2 separate regions of the Homo sapiens genome follow, and region 2 is linked to region 1. The links are contacts of gene promoters, found by promoter capture Hi-C in blood cells and fetal thymus (Javierre and others, 2016). All regions are on one chromosome and are shown on one strand. Each heading gives the region's core, a stretch centred on a gene start or on the middle of the fragment in contact. The rest is flanking DNA. Distances are from core to core; before and after follow the strand shown. Region 1 holds the start of SETDB1 (SET domain bifurcated histone lysine methyltransferase 1). Region 2 overlaps RPRD2 (regulation of nuclear pre-mRNA domain containing 2).

What was found. The method cuts DNA at HindIII sites, captures the fragments that hold promoters and counts their contacts. A CHiCAGO score of 5 or more calls a contact.
Region 2: a fragment that was not itself captured here is called in contact with the fragment with the promoter of SETDB1 in region 1 in 1 of 17 cell types (naive CD4 T cells); the score reaches 5.5 in naive CD4 T cells.

Annotation. Positions count from the first base shown.
Region 1 is chr1:150,924,753-150,929,185 of GRCh38, reverse strand. It overlaps SETDB1 (SET domain bifurcated histone lysine methyltransferase 1), which reads right to left and starts at 2,823. Exons shown (of 22, transcript NM_001366418.1): 1 at 2,669-2,823; 2 at 1,212-1,482. The coding sequence starts at 1,471. It overlaps LOC107985204 (a long non-coding RNA gene), which reads left to right and starts at 2,845. Exons shown (of 3, transcript XR_001738231.2): 1 at 2,845-2,926. The HindIII fragment of the contact is 13,077 bases long and covers 2,313-4,433 here.
Region 2 is chr1:150,465,816-150,469,757 of GRCh38, reverse strand. The region is part of intron 10 of RPRD2 (regulation of nuclear pre-mRNA domain containing 2); the gene reads right to left. Among named protein-coding and RNA genes, the nearest start is that of TARS2, 20 kb to the left of the region's middle. The HindIII fragment of the contact is 7,293 bases long and covers 1-3,942 here.

The DNA of each region.
Region 1 (4,433 bases), core at 1,574-4,073:
CCATTGTGGAAGACAGTGTGGCGATTCCTCAAGGATCTAGAACTAGAAATACCATTTGACCCAGCAATCCCATTACTGGGTATATACCCAAAGGATTATAAATCATGCTGCTATAAAGACACATGCACACGTATGTTTATTGCGGCACTATCCACAATAGCAAAGACTTTAAACCAACCCAAATGTCCATCAATGATAGACTGGATTAAGAAATGTGGCACATATACACCATGGAATACTATGCAGCCATAAAAAAGGATGAGTTCATGTCCTTTGTAGGCACATGGATGAAGCTGGAAACCATCATTCTGAGCAAACTATAGCAAGGACAGAAAACCAAACACCGCACGTTCTCATTCATAGGTGGGAATTGAACAATGAGAACACCTGGACACAGGATGGGGAACGTCACATACTGGGGCCTGTCGTGGGGTGGGGGGAAGGGGGAGGGATAGTATTAGGAGATATACCTAATGTAAGTGACACCAACATGGCACATGTATACATATGTAATAAACCTGCACGTTGTGCACATATACCCTAGAACTTAAAGTATAATAAATTTAAAAACAATGTATTCTAAGTGACAACTAGAGCACCAGAAACAAATCTTTTGGGGGTATGGGAACTTACTAATGCTTCAGAGTTACGTAAGACAGAAATTCTTTACAATCCTCACTCCCTGGATGATCTTACTAGGGAAATGAAGCAATTGTTCTAAGATAGAGCACAGGAGGAAGAAGGGGAAAGGACTTAAGACTTGGACTCCCTTACTGCTGATCATGTATTAGCTGCTGACAGATGAAAATTATATTTACGGCTGATTGTAAGGTCAGATTTTTGACCATAAACTTTGAGGAAGAGTAAGGTTCTAAACATCTGTACTTCATAAAGTATAAAATGTTTGGTACACAGCCTGGCCAACATGGTGAAACCCTGTCTCTACTAAAAATATAAAAAATTAGCTGGGTGTGGTGGCGGATGCCTATAATTCCAGCTACTCGGGAGGGGGAGGTGGGAGAATCACTTGAACCCGAGAGGTGGAGGTTGCAGTGAGCCAGGATCACTCCACTGCACTCTAGCTTGGGTGACAGAGCGAGACTCCGTCTCAAAACATAAAATAAAATGCTTGGTTCAATGTCATGAACAATTATTCTCTAAAAACATCTCCCAATGGAGAGATTTCCTTCTATTTTCCATGGAGTTCTCACCTGGATGCATCATCAAAGAGTTGGTCAACGTGAGCCACCTCAGATTCTTTCTGTATTACCCATGTCTCTAACTCTGCTAGCTGCTTCTTGCGTTGCTGTACACAATCCATCTTCTCCAGTTCCTCATCGATGAAATGCCGAAGTTCCTCCATAGAGATACCCAGTTCCTCAACCACTGCCTGTTGCAGCTCTGCAATCTCTTCAGACTCCACTGTAGCTGTTGCTGCATCCAAACCAATGCACCCAGGAAGGGAAGACATGCTTTTGTCCTCTGCATGGAACAGAAAACAAATTAAATTGGAGTCCTTATAACTACAATCAATCAATAGAGAATTTCAGTTCCCTAATAAAACTAATTCCTACTCTGCTGCCTGTTATTCTATTCAAATATTCCATGTTCTCCCTCCCTATTCTCCAGAATCTGATGCTGAGATTTTTAAGAGTTCTTATCTTCTGCTGTACGCTAACACTCCTGAAAAAGATTTAAGAGTTTGAGACGGCATGGAGAACATTCATTAAGCAGTAGAGAGCTACTGAAAATAATGTTTTGGGCTGGCACAGTGGCTTACACCTGTAATCTCAGCACTTTTAGAGGCCGAGGCAGGAGGGTCGCTTGAGGGCAGGAGTTCAAGACCAGCCTGGGCAACATGGCAAGACTCGTCTTTACAAAAAAATACAAAAATTAGCCACGTGTGGTGGTGCACGCCTTTAGTTCCAGCTACTCAGGAGGCTGAAGTGGGAGGATCGCTTGAGCCCAGGAGTAGCTGCTGTAGTGAGCTATGTTCGCGCCATGCATTCCAGCTTGGGTGACAAAGTGAGACCCTGTCTCAAAACAAACCGAACTTTAAAAATAATCTTTTGGGATACTGAAGAGAACCAATCTATAAGATATTTTTGTGGTCTATATGTGTTCCTTAACTAATGTGATAAATCTTTGTATGCTATGCCTAATTTAAACAAAACCCCACCTGGGGATGGAGTTGATTTGGAACTCACTAACTCAGTGTTTTCTCTTTCATTACTTGTTCCCCTTATATTACTTTGCTTCCATGTGGAATTTTACTTTTTAAAAAGTCTATGATATTCAAACACACGAAAGCTTGCAGCAAAAAGGTTTCCCCCAAAGTACAGAGAAGTAAAGCAACCTGGGAATAAAACGTGGGTACCTAATATCCACAATCCAAATACTTCACACATTCGTGTGAACTGCTTTTTTAATCAAACGGTTAAAGAAAATCTGATTTTCAGCGCCTCCATTTTCCTCTGCCCACACACCAGCCCACCCCCGTGCTACCCATTCTAGGGGTGCGTCCTACCCATTCGCAAACCCAGTTCAGCCCCGCCCCCGTTCGCCTCTGGGGAAGACTTCCTTCCCACCCTCGCCCGACCCCCTCCCACAAACAAAACGTCCCAGATAAGCCTTTGGTCACCAAATAACTCAACAGTATTCCCCGCACCTCCCGTCTTCCAGCTTCAAGGGCTCTTTTTCACCAACCAGACCCCAGACTCACAACTCAGGGGTCGGCCTCGACGGAAAAGAGCGAAAGCGAAGGGATAAGGGAGGAGGGGGAGGGGAGGAAGCGTGAAAGAGGGAAGGGGAAGCAAAAGAAACGCCCGGAAGCAAACCTTTAGTGCCGTTCCGGTCACCGCGACGGTAGCCTGACGGGGTCAAATCCAAAGCCGCGGGGCGCCCCTCAGAGGCGACGAAAACTAAGGTAACTACGCATGCGTTAAGGCAGAGCCTTCCAGGGGCACACGTGAGAAGAGACTGGCAGGGCAGAGTAGGCGTGGCCAGTATATTACCGAGTCTCCGCCGCTCCTACCACCCTCGACTAGTGGCCCCATTACTATATTCATTGTGTAAAGACTTAGGGAAACGCTCATAGGTTCAGAGCTTTATTCTCTCAGTTTTACTTGAGTTTGTTTTGTTACATAAGTGATACAAATTGTAAAGGCTATCAAGATGTAATAAGAAAAACGTGATAATATTCTCTCTTGCCCCATCACCACTCCGCTCCTTTCAGGTAATACAGCTTCATTTTCCAGTCTTGTATGTACGAGTTTCTGTATTTGGATTTTTGTTGTTTTCATTTAACATGTGGACATTACCTGAAGCCAATAAAAAAGGTAAAACTTGTATTTTTGGCCGGGCGCGGTAGCTCACGCCTGTAATCCCAGCACTTTGGGAGTCAGAGGCGGGCGGATCACGAGGTCAGGAGATGGAGATCATCCTGGCTAACACGGTGAAACCCCGTCTGTACTAAAAATGTTAGCCGGGCGTGGTGGCGGGCGCCTGTAGTCCCAGCTACTCGGGAGGCTGAGGCAGGAGAATGGCGTGAACCCGGGAGGCGGTGCTTGCGGTGAGCGGAGATCGCGCCACTGCACTCCAGCCTGGGCGACAGAGCGAGACTCCGTCTCAAAAAAACCAAAAAAAACAAAAAAACAAAAAACCAATAACTTGTATTTTTGACACCTGAATAGTTTAGATTGTTTAGATTGTTTTCCGTTCTCAGCCCCGACAAATAGCGCAACAATAAAAATAAACATCCTTTTGAAGTAGTACTTTTATTTCTGTAGAAAAGATTCCCCAGGCCGGGCGCTTTGTGTCCGAGGCGGGAGGATTGCTAGAGCCCAGGAGTTCCAGACCAGCCTGGGCAACACGGCGAAACGCCATCTCGACTAAAAATACAAGGTAAAAAAAAAAAAAAAAAAGCCAGGCGTGGTAGTTCGCGTCTGTGGTCCCAGCAACTCCGCAGCTGAGGCGGGGGGAGGATCGCTTGAGCCCCGGTGGCAGAGGCTTCAGTGAGAGGAGATCGCGCCACTGCACTCCAGCCTAAGTGACCGAGCGAGACTCCGTCTCAAAAACAAAACAAAACAAAAAACAAAAAGAAAAGATTTCCCAAAATGGAATTTGAGTAAAATAATATGTGCTTTTTTCCTTTTTTTTTTTTTTTTTTTTTTTTTTGAGAAGGCGTTTCGTTCTATCGCCCAGGCTGGAGTGCAATGGCGCGATCTTGGCTCACTGCAACCTCCACCTCCCGGGTTCAAGCGATTCTCCTGGCTCGTCCTTCCGAGTAGCTGGGACTACAGGCGCGTGCCACCACGCCCGCCTAATTTTTTGTATTTTTAGTAGAGACGGGGTTTCACCGTGTTAGCCAGGCTGGCCTCGTCACACCTCGGCCTCCCAAAGTGCTGGGATTACATACAGGTGTGAGCCACTGC
Region 2 (3,942 bases), core at 1,443-3,942, 460 kb after region 1:
AAACTTTCTCAGAAGCACTGAGAAAGAATTCTTTGGGGCAAAGGCTGAAGTTCAACAAAGCAAACTGCTCCTGTAGAAAATTTTTTAGAAAAATATTTGACAAAAAGATAACAGAAGGTTCTATAAATTCAATCATATTTTTAAAAATTTACCCAATTTCTGGTCACAAATGAAGACTTTTGGCTGGGCACGGTGGCTCATGCCTGTAATCCTAGCATTTTGGGCAGCAGAGGCAGGAGGATGGCTTGAGGCCAGGAGTTTGAGACCAGCCTGGGAAACACAGAGAGACTCTGTCTCTAAAAAAAATTTAAAAATCAGCTGGGCATGATGGTGCATGCCTGTAGTCCTAGCTACTCAGGAGGCTGAGGCTGGAGAATCACTTGTGCCCAGTTCAAGGTTACAGTAAACTAACTATGACTCTGCCACTGCACACCAGCCTGGGTGGCAAAGTGAGTCTCTGTATTTAAAAATAAATTAATTAAAAAAATTTTTAATATACATTTCACCCAAATTTATAGCTTTTAGTCACTGAATACACTAACATTGTTCCTTAGTAATTATATGATTAAAGAAAATACTTCATGTGATATTTCAATTAACATTTCTTCAAAATTTCAATTTTAACCCATATTCTAACAGATTTGGCCTAAAGAATTTCAAGTCCCCTCCATCCTTGTAACATTTTAAAGCCATTTATTTCTAAATAATGTTGGATGGTCTTTATTGTTATCCAATATTCAGTAATATCCAAACAACTGAAATAATGTTTACTTTAGTTATGATCCTTCTGAAGAAAAAAAAAAATCGGCATGTTTCATTCCAAAAAAAGTTCCCTAGCCACATAATTCATCCCTACTAATAGTTTCCTTTTTTTTTTTCAAGAGACAGGCTCTTGCTCTGTCACCCAGGCTGGAGTGCAGTGGTGCGATCATAGCTCACTGTAACCTCAACCTCTTGGGCTCAAAAGATTTATCTGCCTTAGCTTCCTGAGTAGCTGGGACCACAGGTGTACATCACTATGCCCAGCTAACTTTTTTATTTTTAGTAGAGACAAGGTCTCACCATGTTGCGCAGGCTGATCTCAAAATCTTGGGCTCAAGTGATTGTCCCACTTCAGCCTCCCAAAGTGCTGAGATTACAGGCGTGAGCCACCATGCCCAGCCTGATTTAATTCTTAGTAATCACTGTTCTCACAAAACCCAGAAGTCCTCAAACACTAGAATGTGATATATAATAATGTAATATGATTTTTAGAAGATATTTCAGCATATTTTTCAGATATTTTGGGATAACTTCTTCAAAAGAACATCTTTTTAAGATAGATATACTACTCAGATTTCTGGTAATAGGTAAAATTGTCTCTCACCACTAAATATTACTGTTCTCCAATCTTTTTTTTTTTTAATTATTTTTAAAAATTCTTAAAAACAATAGAGATAGGGGTTTTGCTATATTGACCAGGCTGGTCTCAAACTCCTGGCCTCAAGTGATCCTCCCATCGTGGCCTCCCAAAGTGTTAGGATTACAGGCATGAGCCACTGCGCCCAGCCAAAAGTTTGCTCTTTAATCATAACAAGTCATACTCTGCTCCTTTGCCCACTGAAGTTTCTCTTTTTTTGAGACAGAGTTTTGCTCGTCGCCCAGGCTGGCTCACTGCAACCTCTGCCTTCCGGGTTCAAGCGATTCTCCTACCTCAGCCTCCCAAGTAGTTGGGGTTACAGCTGTGAGCCACCACGCCCAGCTAATTTTTTTGTATTTTTTTTTGGAAAGACAGGTTTACCCTGTTGGCCAGGCTGGTCTTGAACTCCTGACCTCAGGTGATCCACCCGTCCCCAAAGTGCTGGAATTACAGGTGTGACCCACCACACCGGGCCTGAAGTCTCTCTTTTGTGTTATAAATCTGTCAATACCTAGGGCTGTGGATGACACAATCAGAACAAAGTTCTGGGATTTCATTAACAGTCTTCGAGGAAATACATCTATTTAACTTGCTAGATACAATCCTTTTAAAAGTCAAAGAGAATTCCACATTCCATAAGGAACCTAGTTCTGTTCAAATTTTGCCTCATCAGAAATTTCACATCGGCCAGGCACGGTGGTTCACACCTGTAATCCCAGCACTTTGGGAGGTCGAGGCAGGTGGATCACGTGAGGTCAGGAGTTCGAGACCAGCCTGGCCAACATGGCGAAACCCCGTGTCTACTAAAAATACAAAAATTAGCCGGGCATGGTGGTGTGAGCCTGTAATACCAGCTACTCGAGAGGCTGAGGCAAGAGAATCACTTGAACCCGAGAGGCAGAGGTTGCAGTGAGCCGAGATCACACCACTGCACTCCAGCCTGGGCAACAGAGCAAGTCCCCGTCTCAAAAACAAACAAACAAATAAAAATAAAAAGGGAGAAAGCATAAACATGTCAAACTCTCAAATTGTCCCTGATATTAGTAGTACAACATGTGCTGCAGTCATCATCAATTCTTTATTGCTGATGCCAATAGATAGGGGCTGTGGATTATTACTTAATACTATTTAGTTCTGTGTAACAAAATTCTTCTGCACCTCCAGACAAAGTTCACTATAATATGCTTGAATGATCCACTTACATAACAGTTTAGGAAACTGTTTTACACCACTCCTTTGATAGAGAGCAGGGTTTCTCAACCTCAGCACTACTGACACTTTGGGCTAGATAATTCTTTATTGTTGGGGCTGTCTCACACATTGTAGGATATTTAGGAGCATCCTCCTGGCCTCTACTCACTAGAGGCAGTAGCACCCCTACCATTACCCCAGTTGAGACAACTAAAAAGGTCTCCAAATATTGCCAAGTGTCCTCCCTGGAGGCCTTTGGTTGAGACTACTGATATAGAGTAAATCACTACACTGAATATATTGCCCTGGTATTTGTAATTCATTTCATAATTATACTACGGTACTTAAAAAGGATTTCATTGGTATCTGGAGCATAAGAGAGTAGAGAGTAGGAAAGATTTATGAAAAAAGGTTAGAAACAGGCAGTGTCATGCACAAAACATAATTAGTAAAGCTGAACAGAAAGGGTCAAATGAGAGAGATTATAGGTAGGTGAAAACAAAAATACTACATCTAAGACTCTAATAAAATAATAAATAAAATAATAAATAATGAAGCCTCTATAAAACATTAGGACAAAAAAAGATATATTCATGTCTCAGAAATTTTTTTTTTTTTTTTTTTGAGGCAGGGTCTCATCACTTAGGTTGGAGTACAGTGGGGTGACCACAGCGTACTGCAGCCTTGAACTCCTGGGCTCAAGTGATCCTCCTGCCTTAGCCCCCTGAGTAGCTGGAACTACAGGCATGCACCACTATGCCCAGCTAATTTTTTTTTTTTTTTTTTTTTTGAGACAGAGTCTTGCTCTTTTGCCCAGGCTGGAGTGTAGTGGGGCAATCTTGGCTCACTGCAACCTCCACCTCCTGGGTTCACACCATTCTCCTGCCTCAGCCTTCCAAGTAGCCAAGACTACAGGTGCCCGCCACCACGCCCGGCTAATTTTTTGTATTTTTAGTAGAGTCGGGGTTTCACTGTGTTAGCCAGGATGGTATCGATCTCCTGAACTCATGATCCGCCTGCCTCAGCCTCCCAAAGTGCTGGGATTACAGGCGTGAGCCACCGCGCCCGGCGCTAATTTTTAATTCCGTTGTAGAGACAGGGTTTCACTATGTTCTTGAAGCGTCATAAAAAAATTTTTTTTTTTTTTTTTTTTTTTGGACTGAGTCTTGCTCTGTCGTCCAGGCTGGAGTGCAGTAGCGTGATTCCGGCTTACTGCGATCTCAGCACACTACAGGTGTGTGTCACCACACCTGGCTAATTTTCATATTTTTAGTAGAGATGTTATTTCACCTGGTTGGCCAGGCTGGTCTTGAACTGCTGACCTTAGGTGATCTGCCCGCCTCAGCCTCCCA